Linked DNA regions of Homo sapiens: all the other regions are linked to region 3. The links are contacts of gene promoters, found by promoter capture Hi-C in blood cells and fetal thymus (Javierre and others, 2016). All regions are on one chromosome and are shown on one strand. Each heading gives the region's core, a stretch centred on a gene start or on the middle of the fragment in contact. The rest is flanking DNA. Distances are from core to core; before and after follow the strand shown.

Region 1 (4,529 bases), core at 814-3,313, 770 kb after region 3:
GTGTATGAATAGAATAAGAGTGTGTCATTCAGAATTTTCTTTGGTTCCTCGTAATAGAACACCAGTTGCCAGCAGCTTTAAAACCTAGTTGTTTATTTTTATTATAAGAATGTAGGTCCAGAAATAGCAGTTGTTGCTTTATTTCAGCAGTCAATATATCTGGAATTCCCTTGCTTTTCCCTCATTATTACCATATGACTGCTGTGGTTCCTACCATCATGTCTATGTACAAGGCAAAAAGAAGGTAGAAAACCTCACTGTATCTGTCCTTTTATTAGGAAATTCAAAGCTTACTTAAACTTAGAAGACAACTCAAGTTGCACTGGCAGAATTGTGTCATCTGGTCACCAATAGCCACAGAAAAGATGCAAAGTCAGCATTTGACTGGGCACCTTATTGCTCTAGACATAACTATGGTTCTGTTATCAAAGAAGAATTGAGGAATGGCTATTGGCTAAGTAACTGACAATGTCTGTAACTTATAGTGGTAACAATGAACTCTAACCTGACTGATTTTTAGTTCAGGCTATTTGTCTATACAGCTGATATCAAAAAACCCAGAAAAGGTCAGAAGGGACTGTGTTTTTACTAAATTCCAAAAGTTAACAGAAATAATTATAGCTCTGAAAAGGCTATAGGTTGTCACATGCTTATAACTTCTGCTTCCACATGGAAAGCCACTTGACATCTGAAAACCCTGCTCTCTGTTCACGGGCTTTCTTTGTTTTTGTTCACCACATGATGAGACAGAGACATAAAAACATTTTATCTGTTAACTTTTAAAATAACTTGAAAGGAAAAGGGAAAGTATATTTGAAATTATTTGGGTTAAATCCTTAAAGTCTCTAATATACTATATATTTAATCACGTTTTAATGTTTTCATTTTCTTTTTCAACTTTTCTTTTAGGTACAGTGGGTACATGTGCAGGTTTGTTGCATGGGTAAATTGCAACAAACCTGCACATAGGGTTTGGTGTATGAATTATCCCATCACCCAAGTCTTGAGCTTAGTACTTGATAGGTAGTTTTTCAAACCACATCTTCTTCTCTCCATTCTCCTCTAGAAGTCCCCGGTGTCTATTGTTGTCATCTTTATGTCCATGTTTACCCGATGTTTAGCTCCCCCTTATAAGTGAGAATATGCAGTATTTGGCTTTCTGTTCCTGTGTTAATTCATTTAGGGTAATGGCCTTCAGCTGCATCCACGTTGCTGTAAACTAGTTAATTTTTGTTGTTGTTACTGTTGTTGTTATTGTTGGAGACAGAGTCTCACTCTGTCACCTAGGCTGGAGTGCAGTGGTGCAATCTTGGCTCACTGCAACCTCTGCCTCCCAGGTTCAAGTGATTCTCCTGCCTCAGCCTCCTGAGTAGCTGGGACTATAGGCGCATGCCACCATGCCCGGCTAATTTTTTGTATTTTTATTAGAGACGGGGTTTCACCTTATTAGCCAGGATGCTGTCAATCTGACCTCGTGATCCACCCGCCTGGGCCTTCCAAAGTGCTGGGATTACAGGTGTGAGCCACTGCGCCCGGCTCTAAAGTACATAATTTTATTTCTTTTTATGGCCACATAGTATTTCATAGTGTATGTGTACCACATTTTCTTTAACCACCATTGATGGGCATCTAGGTTGATTTCATGTCTTTGCTATTGCGAATAGTGCTGCAATGAATAGACAAATGCAGGTATCTTTTTGGTAGAATGATTTATTTTCCTCTGGTTATATACCCAGTAATGGGATTGCTGGGTCAAATGATAGTTTTATTTTAAGTTCTATGGGAAATCACACTGCTTTCCACAGTGGCTAAACTAATTTGCACTCCCACCACCAGAGTATGTGTTCCCTTTTTTCCACAACCTCACCAACATCTGTTATTTTTTGACTTTTTTTTTTTAATAATAGCCATTCTGACTGATGCGAGATGGTATCTCGTTGTTTTGATTTGTATTTCTCTAATGATTAGTGATGTAAAGCATTTTCTCATGTATTTGTTGGTTGCATGTATGTCTTCTTTTGAGAAGAGTCTGTTCATGTCTTTTGCCCATTTTTGGATGGAGTTGTTTGTTGTTTGCTTGTTGAATTGTTTAAGTGCCTTAGAGATTCTGGATATTAGACCTTTGTCAGATGCATTGTTCGCAAATATTTTCTCCCATTCTGTAAGTGTGTTTACTCTATCGATAATTTCTTTTGCTGTGTAGAAGCTCTTTAGTTTAATTAGGTCATGCTCATAGATAGAAAGAATCAATATTGTTAAAATGGCCATACTGCCCAAAGCAATTTATAGACTTGGTGCTATTCTTATCAAACCACCAATGTCATTTTTCACAGAATTAGAAAATAATATTATAAAATTCATATGGAATCAAAAAAGAGTCTGAATAGCCAAAGCAATCCTAAGCAAAAAGAACAAAGCCAGAAGCATCACACTACTGACTTCAACCTACACTAAAAGGCTACAGTAACCAATACAGCATGATACTGACACAAAAACAAATACACAGATCAATGGAACAGAATAGGGAATCCAGAAACAAAGCCACACACCTACAACCATCTGATCTTTGACAAAGTCGACAATAACAAGCAATGGGGAGGGGACTCCCTATTCAGTGAATGGTGCTGGTATAACTGGCTAGCCATATGCAGAAGATTGAAACTGGACCCCTTTCTTTCACCATGTTAAAAAAGTAACTCAAGATGGACTAAAGATGTAAGACCTAAAACTATAAAAGTTTCATAGAAGAAAACCTAGAAACACCATTTTGGACATCAGCCTTGGCAAAAAATTTATGACAAAGTCACCAAAAGCAATTGTAACACAAACAAAAATGGACAAACAGGGCCTAGTTTTAATTTTTAATTAAATTAAAACAGGTAATAGTCTTGTTTAGTTTGAGTGTTTAAGTACAATGAAGAACACATCGACTTGTTTTCTCATCTTATTGGGAATTTCTAAATAAGCAACTCTGCTATATGACTCATTAATAAAACATATACTTTTGCCCTGTGAAAAACACCTTGAAGCTGCTTTTATATATTTATGACAGATTTCACTTGCTGTCATGACTCATGGATGGTAATAATTATAATTTATTTGAAGGTCATTGTTTTCTTTTCTTAGTATGGGGGTAGTTTTAAATGAGACATTCAATCTAAGCTGAAAATTTTAATGTACTATATATATATATCTGGAGTATTTATATTTTCTATTTATTTTCCTTGTAAGTATTTTCTTCAATTTAAAAATTATTATGTGTAAGTATATTTGCATAATATATTTTCTGTGATTACTTGTTCATTTATAGTAAATTATAATTATTTTAATGAATTTTCATATAAACATATTTGTTACTTAGGGAAATTTATCCAAAGCCTTGAATTTTTTGTTTGTAAATATTCCAAACAAACATTAATTATTGCCAACTTTTACAGCTGGTCAATATTTTTTTAGCAAGAGCAGAAATTTATACCATTGTCCTGAAAGGACCTTAATAGATATCAAGTAGTCTGCATGATATACAGACATTGCATTTCAACTTTATAACTCAATATTATGGTTTCCTTATTATATTGTGCTTGCTAAAGGGGAAAATACTAACATTATTGTCAGCATGGCACACATAATTTTCACCTAAATTAGTTGATTTCTGCAATGCTACCATATCTGCTGCCTGTAAAAGCATAGGAAGCATAATTCCATTTCATTTTTTATTAAATGATTGTTGCAAATAAGTTATAAATTCTTCTATCTTAAAAACAAATAAAGCCAGCCTTGACCCCATATCCCCTTCATCTATGATTCCCTCTCCAATTTTCTTTGTTCCTTGTTAGCAAAGCTTATCGAAAAGTGGCCTATACTTAGATTCTGATTGCCTCTCTCCCTTCTTTTTCTTGAAAACACTAACCAGGTCTTCATCCCCATCACTCTGTTGAAATCTTAATTTCTTAGGTCAACACTGACTTCCATATTACCAAATAAGTCAATCATCAGTCTTCTGATTACTTGGTCATTCTCTTTCTTGAAGCACTTTATTTCATTGCTTTCCAAGGAATGCACCTCTCCTGGATTTTCTCTAACCACACTGGCTTTTCTTTCTCAGTTTCAGGTGTTGAGTCCCTTCATCCTTCTGACCTCAAAATGTTGGGTTACCCTAGGGTTCAGTCTGGGACCCCTTTTCTTTTTTCTCTTTCTTCTTCTTCTTTTTTGTTTTTTTTTAAGGTGGAGTCTCGCTGCGAGACCCAGGCTGGAGTGCAGTGGTGCGATCTCAGCTCACTGCAACCTCTGCCTCCCAGGTTCAAATGATTCTCCTGCCCCAGCCTCCCGAGTAGCTGGGACTACAGGTGCATGCCACCACGCCCAGCTGATTTTTTTATATTTTTAGTAGAGAAGGGGTTTCAGGATACTGGCCAGGCTGTTGTTGAACTTCTGACTTCAAGTGATCCATCTGCGTCAGCCTCCCAAAATGCTGAGATTACAGGCATGAGTTACCGTGCCCAGCCTTTTTTTTCTTTTTTGACACAGGG
Region 2 (4,678 bases), core at 455-2,954, 840 kb after region 3:
ACAGAGCTGACAACCCCACTCTCTAAAATAGCTCCATTCAAAGTTGTAAAGGCCATATTCCCTGTCTCCCTTCTCTTCAATGACATGCCACTTGATAGCACTTGATACACTGTGCATTCTGTTTATCTATTTGTCTGTTTTCTCTCACCACAATATAAATTCTCTAAGGGTAAGAAGCTTTATTTAGTTCACTACTCTTTTCCAGAGCCTAGAATAGGGCCTGCCATGTAAACGGCACTTAATGAATGCTTACTGAGTGTTAAAAGGATGAATGAAGGGATTATTTAAGAATCCTTATTTTGGCCAGTTGCCATGGTTCGTGTCTGTAATCCTGGCATTTTTGGGAGGGTGAGGCCAAGGCCAGGAGTTTGAGACCAGTCTAAGCTACATAGCAAGACATCGTTGCCACAAAAAATTTACAAATTAGTCAGATGTGGTGGCATGCATCTGTAGTTCTAGCTACTTTGGAGGCTGAGGCAGGAGGATTGCTTGAGCCCAGGAGTCTGAGGCTGCAGTGAGCTTTGATTGCACCCCTGCACTGCAACCTGGGCAACAGAGCCAGACTCTGTCTCTTAAAAACAAAAAAAAAAGTTTCTCCACCTCTAAGGGGCAGTTCTGTAAACTTGTGGCTGACAGATCACTCAAATCCAGGCAAGTAGCTTTTAATTAATTGAACCAGGATTGGACCCAGAGCCAGCGTTCTTAACTAACCCCTGTAGTTAACTCTCAGAAAAGTCCATGTTCTAATTCCCAGAACCTGTGAATGTGTTAACTTGCATTTCAAAAGAGACTTTGCAGGTGTGATTAAATTAAAGATCTCAAAATGGGGAGATTATGGATTATCAGAGTGGGCCCAGTGTAGTCACAGGGGTCCATACAATTGGAGTACAAGAGGGTAAGAATCAGAGAGGAGGTGTGACCACGATGGAAGCAGAAGTTGGGGTGATGCAGGGTCATGGCCCTTAGAAGCTAGGAAGGAGCAGGGAACGGATTCTCCCCTAAAGCCTCTAGAAGGAGTGCATCCCTGCTCATGCATTTCAGACTTGTGGTCTCTAGAACTGTCTGGAGATGGTGTTGTAAGACAGTAAATGACTATGGCAGCAATCAGATATTCATATAACCCCTACACTATATTTTCATATACCTGACTTTTTCAGTCAAGATTCTGGTGCTCAGAATGGGAAAAACATACAACTTTATGTTAATAAGTTGTATTTCTGTTGGTGCCTCCTACACATGGCAGGGAAGCAGGATTGATTATGGCCTGTGCAATTAATATTTTAACCTAGAGAAAAAATGGGAGAAAGCAGGAAATGTAATTAGACTGTGCCAAAGAAGTGTAATTTTGACAGTTGAGTTGGAAGATGAATGGTGGTTGTGGGGAGAAGAATTTGAAAGGAGGGTAGACAAAAAAAAATCACCCAAAAAGCTGTGGCATTTGCTCAGGAGAGATATGACATGCAGATGAAATTAGGCAATATCAGTGAATATAGAGAGGAATAGATACATTTTTAAACTATGGTAAATAGTACGATTGAAGTGTGTGCCGGGTGCAGGTAAAAAAGGAAGAGGGGACAGCATGATGTCAGACTGGGACTCCCTGAGTTGGAGGTGCCTGTGATATATGGGAGTGGTTGAGGGGCTGAGATTATAAGGGGAGTGAATACAGAAGGGAGCAGAGGATAGGACCCTAGGAAGCATCTATCAAGTTATGGGCAGAGGTTGTACGTAGCACAGAAAGGCAAGAAATTGCCAGGGAAATAGGAAGAGAACCAAAGAGGAGAATGGCTCACCAATAAGGGAGTGGCTCATGCTGCCTGTTAGTCAAGTAGAGAAGCAAACTAGATTTTTCCTTAGGAGGTCACTGGGATCTGTACCATGCCTAGGTAAGAGCAGTTTCAATAGAGGGATTAGAGAGAGGTGTGCTGGATCTCACACCTACTCAGCAGAGGCCCTTGTGCACTGGAGCTCATACCTACTCAGGAGAGTCTCTTGTGCACATCCAAGCCCAGCTCTGCATTCAATGACATCAGCTTTAGATCAGTGATGGTGGAATTACTTGAAATCAGCAAATGCTACAATGCTACAAATCAGGGTGTTCCCTTCTCACATCCTTCCCCATCCCAAGAGTTAAACATTCACCAGCTTCAACTGGGAGAGAAGAAAGCTGAAGCATGACTGATTAAGTCTGCAAGTGAATGGGAGATAAGGAAGTGGGGCTGAGGGAGTTCATTATCTTTCCAGACGTGAGTGGTGAAGGGAAAGCGCACAGTACAGTCACATCTTAAGACCCAGATAGGTTTGAAAGAACATTGCTTTTTCCTGGAAATGTCCCAGACAAGATTGATTATATAGCCTCTATTGTATCACTGAAGTTTTAAGGAATCTTTACTTTTAATGGCATCTCACATATATAAAACCACATTATTGTTATGTAAGAAATTAACCCAGTGCTTTCCTTCTTTCCTGATCGATTAGCACACACTGTCTTTTTGCATCATTTCTCCCATGTGTAGCTCCTCTGTTCATCCACCTTTCTGGAATTGCTTGGCTCCTTCCTGCTTTGTACATGATCCCTTTAAGACAAATCTAGTTTCACACACGAATGCAAATATACTTTTAGGCACTTTTTTGAAGAAGGATACAAGTGGATGCCCAGTTCTCTTTGTTTGTATGTTGGATTTCTGATTAAGATTTCCTAAATAAAGGGCCCCAAACTAATGTTTGAAAAAAAGGGGGGGGGAGGGTAAACATAGTTTCAAGTTTTTTTAATCACTTATTTACACGTTACTCTTTATTCAAATTGTTCTATTTTATCTGTTATCATTATATGCATTTGTAAGATTATGAGTTTTTGTGGAATTAAAATCCAGCACTGAAGAAAGCCCAGGCATTACTTAGTGGGAATTTCTTTGTAAAAAAATAATCCCATTCAGGATTCTCAAGGGAAGTCCAGAGCCCGACTGTAGGTTAATGAGAATAAAAGAAATGATTTAGCACGTGCATACAGCTAATTTGGCGTCAGCATTGTGCTCATGTAAGGATGTAATTATTCTTTTGTCTCTTCTGGGAAGCCCAGAGTATACGTTAATAATCAAGTTCCAGAAGATGGCAGCAAAGGATTTACTATCCAGAGGAAACATGAATGTAATCATTAGTATTCTTGAGATACTTCATTTTGCTTATAGTGATTAAAAGTTACATTGAAACAAAGCTATTTACATCATTTAATAAAGCTTTTTGAATGATTAGCTTTTTCTTTATATTAGAAAGTAGAAATTTACTAGTTTAATGTGTCAAGAAAATATTGTTTAAATCCATGTTTTTAAAAGACTTAATGTAAGCTGCTCACCTCCCAATCCTTTCCCCACCCGCCCAAACTCAACCAGGATCATTGTTCATAGTTAGGGTTCTTTCCCATACTTTTATCCTCTATGCACAAAAATGGTCATATTACATATATTATTCTATAACCTGGTCTTGCCATTTGAAAATCTTTCCATGTTAATCAAAAACTGAATTGTGCATTATTTTATGGTTATATAATTTTATGTATATATTTATAAGTATGGTTGTTTTCAGGTTGCATGAGCAGCCTTGTGGTACATGTAGTTGTTTATTTAGAATACATCCTAGAGGTAGAATAATCAGGTTAAAGTATATGAAAATTAACTGCAGTTATCCTTCCTGCCAAAATGCCTTCCAGGAAAGTCTTTACAATATACATTCCTGTGAATATCATGAGAATGGTTTTTTACCTAAATTTACTCATTAGATACCCTTATTTCACGCTTAGAAGATGGAATTTTATTTCCCAAATTTTATTCTCATTTTATTTTATGCAACTCTACTTACTGTCTCCTTTAAACATCCTTTCATCTATTGTCTCAAAGTAAAAACTAGATATGAAATAAAAACATAAAAGTAAAATGTTATTTTATTTTGTTTTCAAAGTGAAACATTAAAGAAAAAAGACATTATTTAAGTGTAACTGGGAAATGCTCTTTTGTGGGCAAAAATAAATCATTTTAAATTTAATTTATTCCTGTAGCTATTATTCCTAGCATTAGGAAGATACGATTTAATAAAGTACTCTTGAGGAAATTCATTAGGTCACAGGAACTAACATGAAAGCTCTTTATATTTAAAACAGGCAATAATGCTAAGGCATTACTAAATATGTAACTTCAAAGGCACTACATTGCCCAATCACGTACTCCATTTTAGGCATTTTATATACATACACTGTAGCCAAACTTGAGTAAACTTTGATAAAAATTTTCTATTATGCAAGTTTCTTAACCTTAAAATGAACTTCTGTGATTCTTAAGTAAATATTATAGGGTGATGCTTTTATTCTTTGGGCTGGATCCAGATGTCAACTTTTCGTTTTATAACAGCATGTTCTTTGCAACTCATAGCCAACTAATTTTTTCTAGTATGGACAAAGAACAAAGAATGTGCCCTGTAAAAATTTTGTACAAACTTATTTTTCCTGCATTATATATTACGTCTCCTTCTCTTTGTGATTAAAGCCCACGAATATTTTCTTTTGAAAAGTCAATATTATATCTGTTAGATAAGACAAATTTTCCCTATTATCTAACAGCAAATCTGCTTCTTTCTGTTTTTTTTTTTTATTTTAATGTTTTCTGTTTTGTTTTAAAACTTGGAGTGA
Region 3 (4,807 bases), core at 1,949-4,448:
GCATATTTAGACAACGAGAATCAGTATTCCTTTTAGTCATTCGTTCATTTATATATTCATGAATTTGCTCAACCGATATTTATTAAATACTGGCTATGTGCCAGGTGCATGACATAAACTGTACAGTCATTCAAACCAAGTTTCAAGTCTAAAAGCCCTTTTCCTTTGAAGTTCGTTTCCCCCTGAAGAAAGTTAGATCCTTAAGTTACCAGTCCCAAAGCCTCACCTCCCCCAATCTTAGGCTCAACACTAATTATTGTAAGTAGTTTTCATTTTCTGTCTTTCCTTTTAGACTTAAGGCTTCGCCAAGGTCTCCCCGGCCCCCAGCAAACTACCTGCTATGAAGTAGATGCTCTGTAAATAGTTGTTAAGCACAAATTGCCTTGTGCTATGGAGACTGGGCCTGACATGAGTTGTAAAAGTATCAACAAGTGTATTGACAATGGGTATCGGCAAGTCTTTGCCCTTCAAGCCAGAGAGCTGCTGGGCAGGACAGATTATCTCTGTTTTCTCTGTCACTGATTTACTACCCTTGACTTATGCAATGACATCAGCTAATATGAAGAACACTGCACTGATGACCTCAAAATAACTGAACAAATAGTACTCCCTTTCCCCTCCACCAATGGCATCAACATTCTAAAAAAATTTAAGCATCTTAATAAGCGGTGTCTCTGCAAATATATTTCTTCCCTGAAAACATGATAATATTCTTTGTAATATTAGGCAATTTAGAGTCCCAGTGTAACTGTACATAACTCTACAGAAAAAAGACATATCTAACAAGAACTAGAATTACAAAAACTCATTATCACTGCATTGCACATGCTTCACACAGACATGAATACTATACCCACATATGAGGGTAAAAAGATAAGTGAAAGTAAAAGCTATGAGTGAGTGTGTCAGCCTGATACATTATGGTCCCAAGATGACAGGCTGGCCAAAATACTCCAAAAGAACAAACACACAAAAAGAAGGTAGAGGTAAATTTTTATAATGTTTGTATCCTGTTGGGAAATATAATGTAATGGGCACAGAGTGTGGACTGTAGAGTCAGACAGTCAGGGGTCAAGTCCTCATACCAGCACCTACTACCTATACACTCTGGGGTAGTTTACTTAACCTCTCTGAACCTGTTTCACCATCTGTAGAACATAGTGGTTTCAAGAATTAAATACGATAAATGACTACCATAATTTGGCATCTGAGGCATGTACCAATGACAGCCAGTTCACTCATTCATCCCGTAATTATGTATTGAACGCCTACTATGTCTGTCTTGCTCACCAATGCATTCCCAGCCCCTATCACACTACCCGTCACTGAGGAGACTCTCAAGAACTATTTGTAAGATGAATGTTAAGTCTGTGCTGTTATGGTGCATGCATGCTGGATTGAATCCATCCTCCTTCTGACCATGGGAAGAATGCCAATCAGAGTAGAACAAAGTAGGAAAGTAAAGGAACCTTCACTTTAGTGTTGAACAAGAGTCTATTATATACTAGAAAAAACTTTACAAATTTACAGACTTCTGAAAGTTAAATGATGATTCTATTGTTAGTTGATCAAACATCAGTCATTGAAAATGTAGTAATACGTTACCTCAAAAGAAAAAAAAAAGGTTAGAGTTTTCTTAACAGATAATTCTTTTTAAATCTGTAAGAATCTGTACGTCACTAAAATAAAATCCTGTCTAGATTATTAAAATAAACTTTGTTATCAGTTATATTTTCATGGAAAATATTCCTGTATATATTTTAATTAATAGCCACATAGATATTTGCTTTTTCTGTCAGATCATGTATCCCTTTAAAAACCATTAAAGCTAAAGAAAAAAATCTTAAAATATAATATTTACTCATTGCTAATAAAGGGAACACAAATTTGGAAAGACTCAAGTGAATATTTTTTCTTAATTTAAACTGAGTACTTTGTCTCTATTAAGCTAAGTTAAAAGAATTTGGGAGGACAACCTATGCTACCAAGAGAATAATTTGTTTCTAGGAATCTGAGTTAAAAGAATTTGGGAATGCAATCTCTGCTACCTGGAGAAGAAAGAAATGTCGTGGGTCCCACACCATTCTCAAGACTCTGTTTCAAAGCATTGTTTCAATACGCTGATCCAAACCCTGATAACCTGCCATCTTTTTAATAAAATAATTTATAAATTTAATGAGAATGTTTCACTTTCCATACAAAAAACAGAAAAATGCTTTGAATCAATGCACTTACTGGGATTTGGATTACTGACTGGTGTTCCTATTGATTCTTGTAGGAGTTATTAATCCTGATTGCAACACACAAGTGAACAGACAAGAGAGATAAATTTTGTGGCTTGTGGGAAATGAAGGAAAATGGGCCTCATTTAGTCTGTGAGCATACTAATTGAAATAGATGTATGAAGACTTCACCAGTGTTAAAATAACATTGTTTTTATAAATCATATGATATAAACTATATAACAATAAAATAGAATGTTAAACATGTATTTAATCATCATCATAATTTTGATTCAGAAATCTATAATTTATTAGTTATCTTAATAATGTTTAGAATTTGTTGAACATTTTACCTTATGTGAATTAAGGACAAAATATTAAAGCTATTCAGCACAAAAAAAGGGTCTTTCTGATGTGTATTTTTCATAGAATAGGGTATGAATTTGTTATTTTGTTATTTTGATTAATGTCTAAAACAAAAGATAAACACATTATGATATAACATTACTATTGATTTTAATGGCCCCTTTTGAAATAGAATTATGTCATTGTCAGAAAACATAAGCATTTATGGTATATCATTAATGAGTCACGATTTTAGTGGTTGCCTTGTGAGTAGGTCAAATTTACTAAGCTTAGATTTGTTTTCTCACATATTCTTTCGGAGCTTGTGTAGTTTCCACATTAATTTACCAGAAACAAGATACACATCTCTCTTTGAGGAGTGCCCTAACTTCCCATCATTTTGTCCAATTAAATGAATTGAAGAAATTTAATGTTTCTAAACTAGACCAACAAAGAATAATAGTTGTATGACAAGTAAATAAGCTTTGCTGGGAAGATGTTGCTTAAATGATAAAATGGTTCAGCCAACAAGTGAACCAAAAATTAAATATTAACTAAGGAAAGGTAACCATTTCTGAAGTCATTCCTAGCAGAGGACTCAGATATATATAGGATTGAAGATCTCTCAGTTAAGTCTACATGAAAAGGATGGTTTCTTGGAGCTTCCACAAACTTAAAACCATGAAACATCTATTATTGCTACTATTGTGTGTTTTTCTAGTTAAGTCCCAAGGTGTCAACGACAATGAGGAGGTGAATTTTTTAAAGCATTATTATATTATTAGTAGTATTATTAATATAAGATGTAACATAATCATATTATGTGCTTATTTTAATGAAATTAGCATTGCTTATAGTTATGAAATGGAATTGTTAACCTCTGACTTATTGTATTTAAAGAATGTTTCATAGTATTTCTTATATAAAAACAAAGTAATTTCTTGTTTTCTAGTTTATCACCTTTGTTTTCTTAAGATGAGGATGGCTTAGCTAATGTAAGATGTGTTTTTCTCACTTGCTATTCTGAGTACTGTGATTTTCATTTACTTCTAGCAATACAGGATTACAATTAAGAGGACAAGATCTGAAAATCTCACAAACTATAAAATAATAAAAGAGCAGAATTTTAAGATAAAAGAAACTGGTGGTAGGTAGATTGTTCTTTGGTGAAGGAAGGTAATATATATTGTTACTGAGATTACTATTTATAAAAATTATAACTAAGCCTAAAAGCAAAATACATCAAGTGTAATGATAGAAAATGAAATATTGCTTTTTTCAGATGAAAAGTTCAAATTAGAGTTAGTGTGTATTGTTATTATTAATAGTTATGAAACACGGTTCAGTCTAATTTATTTATTTGTAGAACAGTTTGTCCTCAACTATTATTTTTGCTGACTTATTGCTGTTAATTTGCAGTTACTAAAAATACAGAAATGCATTTAGGACAATGGATATTTAAGAAATTTAAATTTTATCATCAAACGTATCATGGCCAAATTTCTTACATATAGCATAGTATCATTAAACTAGAAATAAGAATACACAATAATATTTAAATGAAGTGATTCATTTCGGATCATTATTGAGTTTCAAGGGAACTTGAGTGTTGTACTTATCAGACTCTACATGTAAGAACATATAGTTAATCTGGTTGTGTGTGTAAAAACATATGGTTAATCTGGTTAAGTCTGGTTAATCATATTAGGTAAGAAAAATGTAAAGAATGTGTAAGACGAAATTTTTGTAAAGTACTCTGCAAAGCACTTTCACATTTCTGCTTATCAACTAAACCTCACAGAGATAGTTTAATAGTTTAGGCTTTAAAATGGATTTTGATTATTCAACAAGTGGCCTTCATAATTTCTTTAAGTGTTTTTCTTTAAGTATATACTTTCTTTAAATATTTTTTAAAATTTCCTTTTCTCTAGTAAAGCCAGACCATCCATGCTACCTCTCTAGTGGCACTCTGAAATAAAAAGAAAATAGTTTTCTCTGTTATAATTGTATTTGTAATAAGCAGATGAATCACATTTCTTAAAATTTGTTTTAGAGAGGGTAAGCTCTGACTAGGACCATGACTTCAATGTGAAATATGTATATATCCTCCGAATCTTTACATATTAAGAATGTATATAGTCAACTGGTTAAACAGGAAAATCTGGAACCAGCCTGGCTGGGTTTTAATCTTAGCACCATCCTACTAAATGTTAAATAATATTATAATCTAATGAATAAAT

The links. Contacts are between HindIII fragments. The CHiCAGO score rates a contact against its expected background, and 5 or more counts as called.
Region 1: a fragment that was not itself captured here is called in contact with the fragment with the promoter of FGB in region 3 in 3 of 17 cell types (naive CD8 T cells, monocytes and naive B cells); the score reaches 8.0 in naive CD8 T cells.
Region 2: a fragment that was not itself captured here is called in contact with the fragment with the promoter of FGB in region 3 in 5 of 17 cell types (total B cells, naive CD4 T cells, total CD8 T cells and 2 more); the score reaches 6.0 in total B cells.

The regions. Positions count from the first base shown.
Region 1 is chr4:155,331,302-155,335,830 of GRCh38, forward strand. No RefSeq gene overlaps it. Among named protein-coding and RNA genes, the nearest start is that of MAP9-AS1, 21 kb to the right of the region's middle. The HindIII fragment of the contact is 3,552 bases long and covers 288-3,839 here.
Region 2 is chr4:155,400,965-155,405,642 of GRCh38, forward strand. No RefSeq gene overlaps it. Among named protein-coding and RNA genes, the nearest start is that of MAP9, 26 kb to the left of the region's middle. The HindIII fragment of the contact is 3,059 bases long and covers 176-3,234 here.
Region 3 is chr4:154,559,813-154,564,619 of GRCh38, forward strand. FGB (fibrinogen beta chain) reads left to right here and starts at 3,199. Exons shown (of 8, transcript NM_005141.5): 1 at 3,199-3,320. The coding sequence starts at 3,207. The HindIII fragment of the contact is 2,847 bases long and covers 3,049-4,807 here.